Linked DNA regions of Homo sapiens: region 1 is linked to region 2. Evidence: promoter capture Hi-C in human tissues and cell types (Jung and others, 2019). All regions are on one chromosome and are shown on one strand. Each heading gives the region's core, a stretch centred on a gene start or on the middle of the fragment in contact. The rest is flanking DNA. Distances are from core to core; before and after follow the strand shown. Region 1 overlaps XKR7 (XK related 7). Region 2 holds the start of PDRG1 (p53 and DNA damage regulated 1).

Evidence for each region. Contacts are between HindIII fragments. The study calls those that stand out against the background at their distance.
Region 1: a contact is called between a fragment that was not itself captured here and the fragment with the promoter of PDRG1 in region 2, in 2 of the 25 tissues and cell types used here (lymphoblastoid cells and mesenchymal stem cells).

The regions. Positions count from the first base shown.
Region 1 is chr20:31,989,164-31,992,250 of GRCh38, forward strand. The region is part of intron 1 of XKR7 (XK related 7); the gene reads left to right. Among named protein-coding and RNA genes, the nearest start is that of CCM2L, 20 kb to the right of the region's middle. RefSeq lists an enhancer at 1-592. The HindIII fragment of the contact is 4,296 bases long and covers 1-3,087 here.
Region 2 is chr20:31,950,148-31,953,311 of GRCh38, forward strand. It overlaps PDRG1 (p53 and DNA damage regulated 1), which reads right to left and starts at 1,899. Exons shown (of 5, transcript NM_030815.3): 1 at 1,728-1,899; 2 at 165-240. The coding sequence starts at 1,814. The HindIII fragment of the contact is 6,454 bases long and covers 1-3,164 here.

The sequences.
Region 1 (3,087 bases), core at 125-2,624, 38 kb after region 2:
AGGTGTGAGCTGATGAGGAGCCAGCCATGGGAGGATCTGGGAAAGGGGTATTCCAGGCAGAGCAAGTGCAGACGTCCTGAGCCAGGGACAAGTCTGGCTGAGTTTTAGGACACCCCCCCCCCAGCGCATCTGGAGTGTCAGGAACAAGTGGGACAGTGGTTTGAGATGAGGTGAGAGAAACAGGCAGGGCCAGATGGTTTAGGGCCTGCACGCCGAGGGGAGAAGCGTGGGTTTTATTCCAAGTGTGATGGGAGGCCCTTGGAAGGCTTTGAGAAGGGGAATGACATGATCTGACAGGTTTTAAAAATATCCTGCTGGTTGCCATGTGGAGAATGGACTGTAGGGAGGCAGGAGTGGATGCGGGCAGCCACACAGAAGGCTGACGTGGTCACCCAGGCAAGATGACTGTGGCCTGCACAGGTGGTAGCAGAGGAGACATGGACAGACTGGGGATTTTGTTGTTTTTTAGTGATGGACTCTCACCCTGTCACCCAGGCTGGAGTGCAGTGGTGCAGTCATGGCTGACTGCAGCCTCGAACTCCTGGACTCAAGTGATCTTCCCACCTCAGCCTCCTGAGTAGCTGGGACTACAGGCACACGCCACCACATCGGCCAATTTTTAAATGTTTTGTAGAGATGGGGTTTCTCTGTGATGCCCAGGCTGGTCTTGAACTCCTGGGCTCAAGTGATCCTCCCGCCTTGGCCTCCCAAAATGTTGGGATTCCAGGCATGAGCCGCCACACCTGGCCTGGGGATAATTTTGGAGAAGATCAGATGTACACCACCCCCAATCTGGATTCCCTTCCCTGAGGTGTGGTGTTCTTCCCTTGGGTGAAGATCAGCTTCTTTCAACTTCATTTCAAATAGAGTGGGATGTGGGATAGGGTGGACTTCCTAGAGGAGGTTTCAAGAGAGGTTGCCTGGTGGTGAGGAGGAGCCAGCGGCCCCTGCCCAGTGTATGCTACTCCCTCTATGGACACCCTTTATAGTTTATAAACTATTTTTAAATTCATTGCGTGTGTGTGTGTGTGTGTGTGTGTGTGTGTGTGTGGAAACAGGGACTCACTGTGTTGCCCAGACTGGTCTCAAACTCCCCGGTTCAAGAGATCCACCTACCTCGGCCTCCCAAAGTGTTGGGATTACAGGTGTGAGCCACTGCACCCTGCCCCATCACACTCATTTAATGCTCACAACAAGGAGGAAAATAAAGCTCAGAGAAGTGGAGAGACTACCCAAGGTCACACAGCAGGTCTGGGACAGGGCTGGGAATCAAACCCACATGCCAGCCATTGCTACCTTTCCTCCCTCATCCTTACCCCAGTGGCTATGTGTAAGCAGAATGGCAAGTGCCATTCCCATTTTAGAGAAGGGAAACTGAGGGCCAGGGAAATTAGGTTGCATGTCCTGGGCAGGACTGTTTTAAGACCTTTGTGGGCACCACATCTATCAAGCATATTAAAATGCAGCTACATCAAACATCCCATGTAAATTATATATGACTAGATAAAAGCCAAATTGTAGTTGACTGGCTGACATCATGTTCTGTTTTGCACACATTTAATTAAACATTTATTAATTTTGATTCTGTAGTTTTTCCCTGTGTTTTGGAGCCAATTTTTTTTTTTCAGGCTTCAAACATTTCCCTAGGCCCATGAAAATCTCACAGGCCCTTGGCAGAGAGCTTTTCGTGCTGGCTGGAAGGAACAGCCACAGTTTTGCTCCTGTTGCCAAAAGGGGCAGAGCGAGGCAGAACCCAGGCCTTTTATCCCCAGACCACAGTGTGGTCTTTCCACACTCCCCACTGACCCCACATTCCTGGTACTCAGAGCCCTCCTCTCTTCTCTTCCTCCATCCCTGCTCCTGCCCACTGTGGCCCTGGGCTGTGTGAGCCCTTTGTCTGTGGTTAGCTAGGAGCTGGCAGAGGAGGGGGCAGGAGTGGGCAGGGAGGTGGGCAGGTGGCCCGTCAGGTAGTGATGGATGCTGGCCAGGGGCCAGGGCCTCTCTCATGCTGACCCGGGCCCGGAAACAGATGGTCTTCCAGCCTGAGAGAAACTTCCAGGGTGTCACCTTCCCCCAACTCCCCAGGCCCCTTCACATTGGACCAGCTGGTCTCTCCTTCCTAGTCAAAGCCAGAGCCATGGGAAGGGGAAGGGAATGTGGCGGCAGTGGGGATGGAGGCTAGGAAAGACGGCCTGTGTTCTAGGCCCTCAGAAGTTCTAAGGGCCATCTTGGTTTCTCCCCCAGCCCCCACCTCTGGCCATCTCCAGATCTCTCTCTGCCCTTCCTGTATCCCATGCCTTAGCTCAGCCCTGTAATTTCAGACCTGGACCAAACCCCATCCTCTCCTGGCTTTCCTCCAAGCCAGCCTCCACAGCAAGCTTTCTAAGCCACTGAGCCAAGCTCATCACCCCTGATTCTGGGATGGCATTCAGATAGAGAATAAAATCTGAACTCTTCAGTCCAGAATTTCATGCCCTTCACAATTCTAGTCTCCTTATGTCCCTGCCCATTAAAACCCCTTGTCCAGGCCCAGCAAACCTCTGGCCATTCCCCTAAAATGCCAAATTCTTTCAGGCCTCTGAGCCTTTGCTTCAGCTGATTCTCCCACCTGGAATGACCTTCCATCTCTTGTGTGCCTTCAGATGCCAACCCATGCTTTAAAACTGAGATCAGGCCAGGCGTGGTGGCCCACACCTGTTATCCCAGCACTTTGGGAGGCTGAGGCGGGTGGATCACCTAAGGTCAGGAGTTTGAGACAAGCCTGACCAACATGGAGAAACCCCGTCTCTACTAAAAATACAAAATTAGCCAGGCATGATGGCGTATGCCTGTAATCCCAGCTACTCGGGAGGCTGAGGCAGGAGAATCGCTTGAACTCTGGAAGCGGAGGTTGTGGTGAGCCGAGATCACACCACTGCACTCCAGCCTGGGCAACAAGAGCGAAACTCTGTCTCAAAACAAAACAAAACAAAACAAAAACAAAAACAAACAAAAAAACTGAGATCAAATGTTTCTTCCTTCCAAGGCATCTTATAGCATTATTTCACTTCCTATCTTGTCTCTCTTCCATGGGACTGGGAGATACAT
Region 2 (3,164 bases), core at 649-3,148:
AACTGCAAAATTTGCTCCCCCATCTCCCCGGACTGTTTCAATTTCCCACAAGGCTGAGTTATACAGCTGTGACCTCCTGCCTGATCTCTATCAGGAACAAGGTAAAGGCCTTAAAGGAAAACGGAACAGGCCTCCAGGGCTGCACTGAGAAAATTTCAACTTACCAGAGAGGCTGAGATCCTTCTGCAGGGCCCTCAGGCCCTCTCGATTCTGATTCCTTTTAGTGTCCAGGTCCACAATCTGAAAACCACAGGGACAGGAGGGAACTCAGCTATCTCTTGCCCCAAGCTGTCACCTCTTGACAGACAAGGGTTGCAGAGGCAATGCATTATTCCTGATTACATTCAACGTCCTGCCTAAAATGGATTGATGTGTGAATGTATTTCTTCTCTCACTCAGCTTCCTGGTCTTAAAGACAATGCTTTGTGCAGCTGCCCTCTCCCCAGAAAAGATGCTGAGAAAACATGTGCTGACTAAATGGGAAATTCTGCATTATCCACTCGAACTTTAGGGCATATCAGAATCACCAGGGGAGTGGAAACCCTTCCCCTACACACTGTGATTAAGCAGGCCTAATGTTTATTTTTGGACAAACTTCTCCAGCTGATTCTGAACTAGTAATATGAGAAACCCAACAATACTAGATTGGAACAGCAGGATTGGGGGCACTGAGACAGTGGTAACAACACAATAGCTACTAAGGAAGTGACGCAGTAGTACAGTATACTGCACGAGTGCTGGTTCTGGATTTGGAATACCCAGGTTCGAATCCTGCTATCTGCCTCAAGCTGTGTAATTTCACCTTCCTATTTACTCCTCCTCAAAATGGAGCTACGGACAGTACCTACCTTACAGGTTATTGAGCCAGCAATTAAATGACTTAACACAGTACCTGGCACATAGTAAGTAGCTGATAAACTTTAACTGCTCTTATTCTCATCCAGCACACCCTGATCCAGTACTTAATTTGACAGGATCTTGCCCAAGTTTTCCCCTTCTCAGTAAATACCTGACCCTTCTAACTGGAGATGAGAGGGAGTCACGACTCCCCCGGCTCCACTACCACGGCCTACTGAGTCTGTCTCCAAAATACATTTCTGACCCCTTCACTTCTCTCCACCACCACTACCTAGTCCAAATCCATCTCTGGTCTGGACCATACCAATGGCCCCTCACCCATCTCCCTGCCTCCGCCCTTGCCCACCTATATTCTGTATTCCACACAGCAGCCAGGGGGGATCCTTTTAAAACCTAAATCCAATTACGTCACCCTCCTTCCCCCAGGAACTCCCCTCAAAAACTTGGCACTTAAAACAAGACACCCCATAAACAGGGCGCCACCTTCCCCCACGTCCCCACCCCTGCCCGGTCACAAGGCCCCCTCAGGCTTCTTTTCGGTTCCAGCTCTCCCCTGAGGGCCTTTACAGGGCGGTGCCCCTAGATCAACCATGGGGCCGGGAAGTGCATTTTGAAACAGGTGCTCAGGGAAACGGCCCAGAGCATGATGGGTCGAGATCCACAGAGCATGGCAAGGGGCAGAGAAAGGATGAAGAGAGAGGAATGTCCAGCATAGCGCAGGCGCTCACTTAGTAGCGGCCGAATATTTATCGGCCCAGGTCTGTCGCCTCGGAGCCGTTAACCGCCTGTCCAGGTCAACTCACTGCGACCCCGCGCGCTTTCCCACGGCGCCGGCCGCCAGGCCCCAGCGCCGCGGAGGGGCCTCTCACCTGCCGCTTGTCCGCCAGCACCTCCTCGGCGAGCTCCTCCACTTCTACAAGGTACCGCAGCACTCGCTCTGCCTCGGGTGATAGCATAGCGCCCACCAACTCCGCTTGCGGCTCTCGCGCGACCCCGGGATCTCCGCTTCGACTCCCGCTGCGCACGCGCCGCTCTCTAGGTGCTTCCGGCGCGCCTGCGCAGTTAAAAGAACGGTGGTGCGCAGGCTCTAACACTAGTGCGCCAGCCGGCTGCGAGAGGCGGGGCCTAGCTTTGGGGGCGGGGCTGGAGCGCCCTCTGCAGGCTCAGAGAGCTCAGTCCTCGGGCTGCCTCTGACCCGTTACTCCCTCGGTTCATGCTTCTTGAGCACTTATTATGTGCCAAGCAGTTTTATGTGCTTAGGATGCAGCAGTGAACACAACAAAATCCCTGCCCTCATGGAACTTCATCCTAGTGGGAAACACCGACAATTAATGGCAAAACAATTATATACCGTGGCAGGTAGTGATTAGGATCTGGGAAATATTATTCTTCCCCTGGCTAAGAAACACCAAGAAGGCCCATGTGGCAGTGTGACTTATGTTTAATCTCTGACACTTTCAGTTTCTAATTTATAAAAAGGGGGTGAATAAAAATCCGCCTCAGTGTCTCTCCACAGGATCGGAAGGAAGCAGGAATCAGCTGGGCGCAGTGGCTCATGCCTGTAATCCCAGTACTTTGGAAGGCCAAAGCGGGGGGATCACTTGAGCCCAGGAGTTCGAGACCAGCTTGGGCAACACAGTAAAACCTCCGTTTCTACTAAAAATACAAAAAAAAAAAATTAGCTGGGTGAGGGGGGGCGCGCCCGTTGGTCCCAGCTACTCAGGAGGCTGAGGCGGGAGGAGCACCTGCATCTGGGGAGTCGAGGCTGCCCTGAGCTATGATGGCACCACTGCACTCCAGCCCGGGTGACAAAACGAGACTCTGTCTCAAAAAACAAAGGAAGCAGTAATCACTTTTAATTCCGTTTAACCAGAGTTCACTTGAGCCCCTGTGTTGGGCCCAATGTCCAGAGTAGCTGGCCTATACATAAGGAAGGGACTTGAAAACTATGGGCAGTAAGCAATGAAGTGCTAGCTCAGAAAAGCAGGTGGGTGTGGGTGGTAGGATTGGGAGGACTTCCCAGAGAAGGCAGGCAGGTGGAAAATGGTTACCATCAGAACCAGAGGGTTCCCACGAGGTCTTCACGCCCAAACTCCTCATTGGATAGCTGGAAAAAACAAACCTCAGAGAGAGGCAAGGCTTTGAAAAGAAGGTGAGGGGTGAGCCATGTGGATGCCTAGGAGAAGAGTGTTCCAGGCAGAGGGAACAGCCAGCGTATGTGGAACAGAATGGGCGGGGGGGAAGCAGGCAGGAGGTCAGAGGGAAGGAGGCATTGAGCCCACATGGCTGTAAAAGGCGCTGGGAAA